Linked DNA regions of Homo sapiens: regions 2 and 3 are each linked to region 1. The links are contacts of gene promoters, found by promoter capture Hi-C in human tissues and cell types (Jung and others, 2019). All regions are on one chromosome and are shown on one strand. Each heading gives the region's core, a stretch centred on a gene start or on the middle of the fragment in contact. The rest is flanking DNA. Distances are from core to core; before and after follow the strand shown.

Evidence for each region. Contacts are between HindIII fragments. The study calls those that stand out against the background at their distance.
Region 2: a contact is called between a fragment that was not itself captured here and the fragment with the promoter of CYYR1 in region 1, in 3 of the 25 tissues and cell types used here (H1 embryonic stem cells, heart left ventricle and mesenchymal stem cells).
Region 3: a fragment that was not itself captured here is called in contact with the fragment with the promoter of CYYR1 in region 1 in 1 of the 25 tissues and cell types used here (dorsolateral prefrontal cortex).

What each region holds. Positions count from the first base shown.
Region 1 is chr21:26,571,436-26,574,716 of GRCh38, forward strand. It overlaps CYYR1 (cysteine and tyrosine rich 1), which reads right to left and starts at 1,851. Exons shown (of 4, transcript NM_001320768.2): 1 at 1,433-1,851. The coding sequence starts at 1,505. The HindIII fragment of the contact is 7,865 bases long and covers 1-3,281 here.
Region 2 is chr21:26,526,757-26,530,500 of GRCh38, forward strand. All of the region lies in intron 2 of CYYR1 (cysteine and tyrosine rich 1), which reads right to left. All of the region lies in intron 2 of CYYR1-AS1 (CYYR1 antisense RNA 1), which reads left to right. Among named protein-coding and RNA genes, the nearest start is that of CYYR1, 45 kb to the right of the region's middle. The HindIII fragment of the contact is 3,105 bases long and covers 749-3,744 here.
Region 3 is chr21:26,630,475-26,634,003 of GRCh38, forward strand. No RefSeq gene overlaps it. Among named protein-coding and RNA genes, the nearest start is that of CYYR1, 59 kb to the left of the region's middle. The HindIII fragment of the contact is 4,999 bases long and covers 1-3,529 here.

The DNA of each region.
Region 1 (3,281 bases), core at 601-3,100:
CTGGGCACCTAGCACTGGGGAAACAGGAGGAGGGGGCAGATGTGTAAAGCAGAAGCTTTCAGTTTACCACAGGGAATATAATAAACAAACAAACAAACAAACAAAATTGTGGTTCAATGGAGTGGTTGAATAAGTGTGAGTGAAAGTATTAAATATTGTCGAGCAGAGGAAGTGAAAAGCATAATTACTTCGAAAGAACTAATAAAGAGATTTTTTCAATAGAAAATGAATATTAATGCAGTTGACTCTGTTAATCCCTCAAATTCTGAAAACCTTATACAAATTTAATAAAAGAAATAAATGTTGTAAACAGATTAAATGTAATTCTCTTCATTAAATACGAAGAACTTATCCTACTTTTATGAATTTTCATATTAGAAGGTCAGCATTTTTCCTGCCATAAAACATCTTTAAAATGGTAACTCCTAGACAGCCACTAATTTGCATTTCAATAAACAGGCTAAAAATGTCTACAGAAGTTATGGTGACTCTTTTCTAGCAAGGTTGAATGAGAAATTCAATTCTTTTAATACTCAGGTGCAACACTGAAGAACATCATTTCAGTTGCAATATCTTTTTGAGTATCAAAGGTAAATTTCAGTGCTATATATACATTTCGTATTGGAGGCTCAGGGGTGAGCCTGCGATTTTTGTCATAGGACGTTAGAGACACAAAAACATTTTACAAAGAACTTTGCTTTTAGCTTGCATTGTTTTGTGAATATGAACTGATGCAAAGACCACGTGTGTAAGACACTTTATACCTGAATAACCAATGAAAGGCCATTTGGGGCTCCATATTAATCACAAACAAGAAAACCCACTTTGCTTCGTTAATTATTAGCAGTTCTTACTACGAATAATTAGAAGGGAAACCAGATGCCCTTCTCTTATAAACAAGTGTCTATCTAAATCAACGAACCTGTACAGATTAGACCCTGGGTGAATTCATGCTTCTCAAAAACCTTGTGTTTGACTTCAGTCCAATAGCTCAGTCTACCACACTTGTGAATCTCCCAAAGAACGAAAACAAAGCTCTAAGTTTTTTTTATTCACAAGAGGGAAAACCAGGACTATTTAGAAAGCAGAAGATGGAGAGGCCACTGCCTAGCCTATCCAGATAAGTTTATTTGGATATAGTTTACTCTATCCAGAGAGTCAAATCCCCTAAACACGAGACTGCTATTTCCAAGGTGGAAAGGGAAAGAAAAGAAATGCAAAAGGTAAAAGTTAAAGGAAAAGGAACAAAACAAAACCGCGTGCGGCTGGAAGTGCGCGGGTTTCTGCCGTCGCCTCGCGGAAAAGGCAGAAGCGTCTGCAAAGGTCCTTCTGCAAAGGTCCCGGTCCGTCCAGCTCAACCCACGTTAGCCCGGACCGTGACCCAAGGGCAGCCCCGAGCCTCTGACCCTCTCCGCCGCCCTCCGTCACTGACCTGCGTAGACAAAGAGCAGGACCAACTTCGGAAGCAAGACCCCTGGACGCACGGGTAGCCTCGGAGCGTCCATCCAAGCCGGTGGCCTGAGGCTTGGAGCGAAGGGAGAGCCCGGAACCGGAGGGAATGGGGAGGATGGAGGGCGATCAGATGGAGAGAGCAGCGCTCCTGAGAGCCGGGTGGAGCAGAGACCCGGCCATTGCCTAGGGAGCCTTCCAAGGGAGCCCGGGCCGGGCGCGTCCCGGGCCAGCGACTGCGGGACTCCGCGGAGCTGGGGCGCCCGTGGCCCGAGACGGGCTGCGCTGGGGGCCCAGGTCTCTTTGTCTCGCCCCACTGCGCTCAGGCGCGGGGAAGGCGGCCACTCCGGCGTCCTTGGCCACCCAGGCTCACATTTCATCTCCGCGGGTGGCAACGACTGCGGGCAGGGGGCGGGGGTGGCCCCGACTCCTCCCCAAGCCCGGGTTCTTCCTTCTAAAGAGTGACTAGGGGACCAAGAAACTTTTCCTAACCCCTTGCTTTGGCGATTGCTATGGAGTTCAGCCTGCTCCTTTTTAACCTTGCCTCCACTACAATTTTTCCTTTCTAAGCAATGGATGAACAACTTTGCTTTTTATCTTTAAACAAAGGGAAGGAATTTTCAGGGTTGAAGGTATTCGACAAAGAGTGACAGTGAAGAAAACTCAGGATTGGGAAGTACAGAAAGTGTATGGCATCTCTGCTGAAAGCTGATAAAATGTTTATTATTTTTTCCTGTAAATTCAGAAAAAAAAAACACAACAGTGCACACTGTCGTTATGATTTTGACGTTTTGGAGTTACTGGCCTATGCAATTAAACAAGAGAAAGAAAAAGATTTATGAAAAATGAAAGCTAAATTGTCATTAGCAAATGAAATACGTGTATACATGGAAAATCAAAGTTAATCAACTATAAAGCTCTTGTTTAGCAAACCAATAGTTTTCTTTCCTGCAAACAAAAATCAGAAAGTTCTCAATGTTATGCATGAAGGAAAAAAAATGATACGAATAAGTAAAGAGATACTTTTTTCACTAAGAAAATTTAGTAGGATAAAGACAACAAGATTCCCCAAATTATTATATACATTTGGAAATAAAATTGATCCCAATTTTTAAAATAACATGATTTTTTTCAAACCAATCTGATTCTAAAGTTTATATGGAAAATAAATATGTAAGAATATCTATTTAAAACAAGAGTAATGAATGGGAATAATGAATGGGATATTACATATAATATCACAATAATTAAAACAGTTTAGATTAACATTGGAATAGATAGGCTTAGTGAAAGAGAAAAGGTAACCCAAAAGTAGACATGAGTATGTACAGCAATTTAATTTATGGTTTAAAGAAATATCAATGTAAAGTAGTAGGGGAAATGATGAGTTACTCAGTGAAAAGTGTTGAGGCCGTAAATAGCCATCTGTGGAGCCTTATCTTTTTACATCAAAATCAGTTCTATATGAATTACATATTTAAGATACAACTATGAAAATATTAGATTAAAAAATAAGAGGATAACATTCAAATAATTGTGGAATAGGGAAGCCTTTTCTAAGCATTATAAAAAACTCAGAAACCATAAAACAAAATATTGACCAACTTGACTAAATAAGAATTAATACTTCCAGTTGGCAGACATTTAACTGGCAAAAATATTTGCAATGCAAAGTCCTAATCTCATTATTATACTGAGCTTAAAAAAATCAATAGGAAAAACAACCAAGAGATAACTGAGGAAGGATATTAATAGACACTTCATACAAAACAAATAAATATAAATATAGAAATAAAATTGACAGTGAGACATCACTTTTCATGTATCAAACC
Region 2 (3,744 bases), core at 1,051-3,550, 44 kb before region 1:
CTTTGTGAACACTGTGTAAGCCTCTTTACCTCTTTAACTTTTGGGTAAAAGCTTTTTTAAGTTGTATAATAATTTCTGCTGTTACTTCAGGGTTTTAGGTGTCAAAGGAAATAAGGAAGGTGCAAGCATTTAAACATTTGAGAACCCTACTTGGGAGCACATGATGTGTCCTCCAAACACTATGGTCTTGTTAATTGTCAACACCTGACTCAGAGCAGGCACAAGCTATGTTAAGCACTTATAATGAATTAGAAAATAAAGTTGACCCCAAAGGTGAAAAGGATCTGGGCCTTTTTTTCTTCCCAATATGCAAGTGTGTTCACAACATGAGTGATCAGAAGTCAGGGGATGCTGGGCTATCCCACGTAACTCTATTCTGCACGAGAAACACATATAAAGGCATTTGGACATTTGGAACAAATTAGAGCTACAGTAAAGGCCAGAAACACTGCCAGTTTCCCTCTTGCTTTCTCCCCAGGCCAACATATTACCAAAATAAGTAGTCTCATCAATAAACTAGGGTTTGGAATTTGGAATTAACCAGGCATAATTTCTCAAGTATTATGGCCTCTTTTTTAAAGGCATGAAGTTGGGTAAAATTGATACCTTTTAATTCTGTAAAATATAACCCAATTTACATAACCAAATAAAGTCAAATCACTTTTAATTTTACTTATTGAGTGCTGTACAAACCTCAAAGGTTAGAAAGCCAACAAAAAAAATGCAGAATAGGCAGCTTTTTATATTTTTCCTGAATTTAGAAATTTTTCATTATATGGACAATTATTATTGAAAATATGTGTTTTTATCATCCAGTAAAAATGGCTTATGTTGGCATGAATATACTCCATTTCATTGCTACTTTTGTACATTTCTTTTATTTTGCCTGAATATGGCCAGATGAATCATATATAAAGAAAGCTCAGCTCCTCCAGAACACTGCTATTGTATAAAGAGTACTGCTGCCAAATTCAAAGCTAAATTCAGGTTTGAGGTATCAGAATCTTTTATAGGTCCCGGGAGAATATTTTGTTCAAATAATAGTCCAGTGATTTGAGGGTGTGTGCACCTGTTGATTTTCTAGAAATATAATATTCTGCGAAGTCAGGGATAATGAAGGCTAAGCCATCATTACCTTTTTAAAAATGACAAAGGAATGAACTGTTTCATAAAAGTGTCATATAGAAATTTCAAAAATAAACTACAGAAATTCTATAAATAAAGAGTAAAGGAAAAAAATTCAGCAACACTTAAAACGAGTAAAAATCCAGAGACATCCTGGTAGAAATCTTAGTCCACAGTCAATCAAAAAGAAGCAAATATCACTACAGAAAAACAATTTTGACAGAATAGAAATAAAAATATTCATTGTATTCCAAAAAATAACATCATTTTTGTTAATAGCTAAATATCTTTTTTTAGTTCAAAAGGTTTACCTTTTAAAGCTTTGATTTCTTTTAGAAATTCCTATTAAATACTATTTTCCAGAAATTTGTTAATGCAACTGATATGATTTGGATATGTGTCCCCTCCAAATCTCGTGTTGAAATGTGATCCTTAGTGTTGGAGGTGGGCCTAGTGAGAGGTGTTTAGGTCATGGAGCAGGTCCCTCAGGAATGGCTTGGTGCCACTCTCATGGTAAGGAGGGAGTTCTTGCTCTGGTAGTTCAAGCAAGAGCTGGTTGTTTAAAGGAGACTGGCTCCTTCCTGCTCTCCCTCTTTTGCCCCTTCTCTCACCATATGATGTGCCTGCTCCTCAATTGCCTTTTGCCATGAGTGGAAGCTTCCTGAGGCCCTCGTCAGAACCGGGTGCCAGTGCTATGCTTCCTGTACAGCCTGTAGAACCATGAGCCAAAATAAATTTCTTTCCTTCATAAATTACCCTTCCTCAAGTCTTTACAGAAATGAAGGAATGAACTAACACAGCAACTTTGTAAAGCACTTAAAATGAGGGGAAAAGGGAAAGTCTAAGACTCAGTTCAATCTATTGGATGGTACAATTATTTATATATTTAAAGAGGAGCAACTTCTTGATCAGAAATCAATTTGACCTACAGTTACGGGAGCTTAAGTACTGATTATATGTGGCCATCAGAGAAGAAAACATGTAAGAGATGGAGGAACATTCAAAAAGATCTCTTATAAGCCTTTTCAACAGAGATTTCTCTGGAACAGGTGGGCTAACACTACAAAATTTTGTTGGTTTAGTATGTTTCATGCAAACACAGTCCATTATTAGAAGCAAACAAAGGGCCACAGGTGAGATTAAAATAATTACTCAGTTTTTCCTTGTGATGACTCTTACACTGATACTTTATATATAGTACTTATTAGTCACAACCATTCAGTAGATGTGTATTACCACTGTTTCCTAACATATAATGAAAGTGAGGGTCAGAGGAGGTTAGTAACTTGCCTAAGGTCACTCAGTAAGTGGCATTTAGAGGTGGCAATTTGAATAGAAGCATGTCTAGCTCAAAGTCCATTCTATGTTTATCACATTAGATAATCTTACATATGTTTCTTTTGCATCTTTTTTAGAATGATATACAGAGTTTTATGAAATAATTGCATTTCTGATAAACTGGCTATAAATTACCTTTTATAAACAGAGTCACATATTAATATACATTGGAAGCACTCACTCATTCAACAAATGCCATGCAATGCATTTATAAAGTAATTCATGAAGAAAACAGGTAACCACAATTTTATATAAATTTCAACTACAAATGATAACTCTTAGCTTTGCCTAAAATGGATTAAATCTGTACCAAGTGTGCTTTTGCTGGATCCAGCAGCACTCATTAGCATGGTTTGGGAATAGGTGCCCTCTTGCAGACTTGCAGGCTAGCTGAACCAGTAGCATAGTGCATATAAATGCAGATCCTGAAAACATAGGGGAGTGCGGTTTGCAACAGCCAAGAATGATATCATCAGTCTCTATTTCATTTAATTAAAAATTATCAGCTGTACATAGTGCTATTTTTGACACAGGTCACTGTGGTTCAATGCTATTGGATTTTATCTTATTAAGCACTTAGCTGTTTGCTGGAATGATGGAGGGGCAGAGCTGTGTATTCACAGAGGTTACAGAGTTAGCCCTTAGACCTTTGGTAACATTGAATAGTTTATCCTCAAAGGCTCCTTTCTTGAAAACTTTATGTTATGGCTACCCATCCCATCTTTTCTAGTGACAATGATGAAATGTGTTGAAACATTAATATATATCAACGGAAATACTGACATATGTTGACATACATAAGTGTTGGTAAACAACTCTACAACTATAGTAAATAAATAAACCATTCTTCTATCAGAGACTAGGGCAAACCTAAGCTGTATGACTTTGGATATTACTGTGAAGCTTAGTTTTGCCAGACAATTTTGCTTGTATTTGTATGTTCTGAAAGCCAACTGAGTTGAGAAACTACTTACAGAATTCAATCTGCTCCAGCAGCCTGAATGATTGTTTTGCCCATAATAAAATTATTTTTTATTCATAAATATATACTTTTTAATTTTGAAGTAATCCTAAACTTAAAGAGAAAGTTGTAAGTATAATATAAATAACTATAAAAATCATTTTTGTCTGCAGCATTTTCTGCAAATGTTGCCTCCAGTTATAGTTTTTCTTTTAATTGTTAGGATTTTGTTTTAAATTTAGCCTTAAAATGTGAGTTTATTGGGCATTTTATAATATTAATTTTATTTTTTTTAATTATACTTTAAGTTCTGGGATACA
Region 3 (3,529 bases), core at 531-3,030, 59 kb after region 1:
GCACTAGTCCCTTCTAGGAGAGCTTTGCCCTCATAGTCAAATCACTCCTAAAGCCTCACCTCTTCATACTGTTGCACTGGGGATCAAGTTTCAAAATGAATTTTGAAGAACACACAAACACTTAAACCATAGCATCAACTAAAATCAGTTTCTTGTAGGCAGTATTTAGTTGAATTTCTGTTTTTAAAAAATCAACTCAGCCAATGTGTGTGTATGTGTGTGTGTGTGTGTATATATATATATTTTTTTATTTTAAATATATACATATTTTTTTATTTTAAAACTTTTTTTGTCTTATTGTTTGTAACATTATTTTCTTTTTTTCCCTGCTTTTCCTGAGCTGTATTTTTTTATTGGAGAATTTAATCCACTTACATTTAAGGTAATTGTTGATAGGTAAGGATTTACCACTGCCGTTTTAAAAACGTTTTGTAACTCTTTTGTAGTTCCTCTATTCCATTCTCCCTCTTGCTGTCTTTCTTCATGATTTGATAATTTTTGTAGTGGCATGATTTCATTTTTTTTTTTCTTATATTTTGTGTATCATTTACAGGTTTTTTTCCTTGTGGTTGCCATGGGGCTTACATAAACATCTAATTGTTATAGCAGTCTATTTTAAGCTGATAACTTCTATTGAATACAAAAACTCCGTTTTTTAACTTTTCACTTCCTTACATTTTATGTTACTGATGTAACAATTTATATTTTTTAATATATTTTGTATCAAATTAACAAATTTTTATAGCTATAGTTACTTTTATACTTTGTATTTTAACTTATATGAGTTAAAAGTGATTTATAAACCATGATGACAGTATTCTGGTTGTATTACAGTTTAGTAGAGTATCTAAACTTGACAGTAGAGTATCAAAACTTTACAGTGAGTTTTACATTTTTGTATGTCCTCATGTTGTTAGCATATGTTTGTTTCAACCTGAAAAACTTTAGTTTACATTTCTTGTAAGGTAAATCTAGTGTGATGAACTCCCTCAGCTTTTGTTTGTTTGAAAAAATTTATCTTATTTTAACAATTATTTTTGAAGGACAGCCTTGTTGGGTATAACATTTTTGATTAGAAGTTGTTTTCTTTTACTATTTTGAATACATTATCCAATTTTCTCCTGGCCTACAAAATTTCTGCTGAGAAATACACTAACAGTCTTATGGGGGTTCTTTGAATGTGAAGAACTGATTTTTTCTTGTTGCTTACAAAATTCTGTTTGTCACTGACTTTTGAGAATTTGGTAATAATGGATCTTGGTGAAGATCTGGTATTTAATATATTTGAGTATCTTTGGGCTTCATGGATCTAGGGGTTCATTTCCCATTCTAGATTTGAGAAGTCTTCTGTCATTTTTTTACTTAAAGTAAGCAATCTGTCCCTTTCTCTTTTTCTCCTCCTTCTGGTACCCTGAAATGTGTATATTGGTTTACTTTATGATGTCCCATAAATCCTATAATCTTCCTTAACTTGTTAAAATTCTTTTTCCTTTTGTTCCTCTGACTGAATAATTAAAGTGATCTGGCTTCAAGCTCACAGATTCTTTCTTATGCTTGATTGGGTCTGCTGTTGAACAGCTCTCTATGAAATTTTTCAGTAGACTCATTGTGTTCTTTAGCTCCAGAATTTCTGTTTGGTTCTTTTTTTATGGTTTCTATCTCTTCTTTGAACTTCTCACTTTGTTCATTTATTGTTTTTCTAATAAATTTAGTTGTCTTAATATCTAATATAATTTAGTTATTTCTTATAGCTCAATGAGCTCCTTTTTTTTTTTTTTTTTTTTTTTTTTTTTTTTTTTGAGACAGAGTCTCACTCTATTGTCCAGGATGAAGTGCAATGGCATGATCTCGGCTCACTGCAACCTCTGCCTCCTGGGTTCAAGTGATTCTGCTGCCTCAGCCTGCCAATTAGCTGGGATTACAGGTGCCCATTACCATGCCTGGCTGATTTTTCTATTTTTAGTAGGGATGAGGTTTCTCTATTCGGCCAGGCTGGTCTCAAACTCCTGACCTCAAGTGATCAATCTGCCTTGGCCTCCTAAAGTGCTGGGATAACAGGTGTGAGCCACTGTGCCCAGCCTCAATGAGCTTAAGATGGTTATTTTGAATTCTTTGTCAAGTGGTTCATAGATCTTCATTTCTTTAGGGTTGGTTACTGGTGTCTTATTTTGCTCCTTTGGTGGTGTCATGTTTCTCTAATTATTCATGATTTTTGTGGCCTTGTACTGATATCTATACATTTTAGGAAGTAAGCATCTTTCCGGTCTTTACAGAATGGCTTTGGCAGGAAGAGCTCTTCGTAAATTAGCCTGTCTAGAAATTCTAGGCAGCCTGACTTAGATTCCATGTGCAGGCTTGCTGCTGGAGTCCTTGGGCAGAGTAACCTGATACCTAGGTCAACAAGTGAGTAGGCCTGGAATTGGCTCCACATGGGATGGTCTGGACTTTGGGTTTGCTGGGGGCAGGCCTGCAGCCTGAGTTCACATGGGCCATCTGGGTGTCAGGGCCCACTAAGGTAGGCTTGTCAACTGGCTATTCAGGGATATGCCTTGAGTCTGCCCATAGAGGCCAGCCTAGGACTGGAGTTTACCCAGGTGAGCTGGATCCCTAGATTTTCTGGGGCAGCCTGGACCCTGGGTCCAGTGAAACCTGGGACTGCAGGCACCAGTCTGGTGCTGAGGCAGTCCTGGAGCCTGCATCCACCAGAGTGGTCCTAGAGCCTTGGTCCATGGGTTCCAGCCTGGCACTGGGGCCTGCTAAGGCAGGCCTGGACTCTTGGTCTGCTGGAGCACTGAGTCATGGGCGCTAACCTAATGCCAAGGCCTGGTGGTGGGATAGGCCTGTAGCCGGTGGTGATGGGAATCATCCTGGCACCGGGATGGGCCTGATGACTTGGGTCATAGAAGCTAGCCTGAAGCCTGAGCCATGAGGAATAGCCTGATACTGGATTTTACTGGGGCAGGCCTGGTGCTAAGGTCTATAGCAAAGTCAAGTACTTATTCTTTTTCTCAGGCAGAAGGTGTCTCTCTCTTTGCTGTGCTATGCAGGCTTGGGGGAGGGATGATGCCAGTAATATAAGACTGTCTTTCTTGCTCTCTTCAATGTGTCTTTCCTTATTTCTATGCTACGCTGAGATATTATAATCTCTTACCTGGACTCCTTAGCTCTTGTATATTTTTGTGCTTGGATAGTTCCAATTAAGTTTCCTGAGAGAAGACAAGTGCAGAAAAGTTCTATTCCACCATCTTCCAGATGTCACGCTGTTTTTGTAAAATTGAAATAAAAATTACATATTGTGAAATGCGTAGATATTAGGGATTAAATTCAATGGATTTTGATAAATGGATATAAACATTATGACATAAAACATTATTATTACCCTAGAAATTATCTTAGGCCTCCATTTAGATAATTCCCCATAGATAGCCATTGTTCTGATTTCCATAACCATAGGTTGGTTTTGCCTCTTTTAAATTGTATAAAGATGGGCATTCTCACAAAAATGTATTCTTTGATTGTATATGTTTTT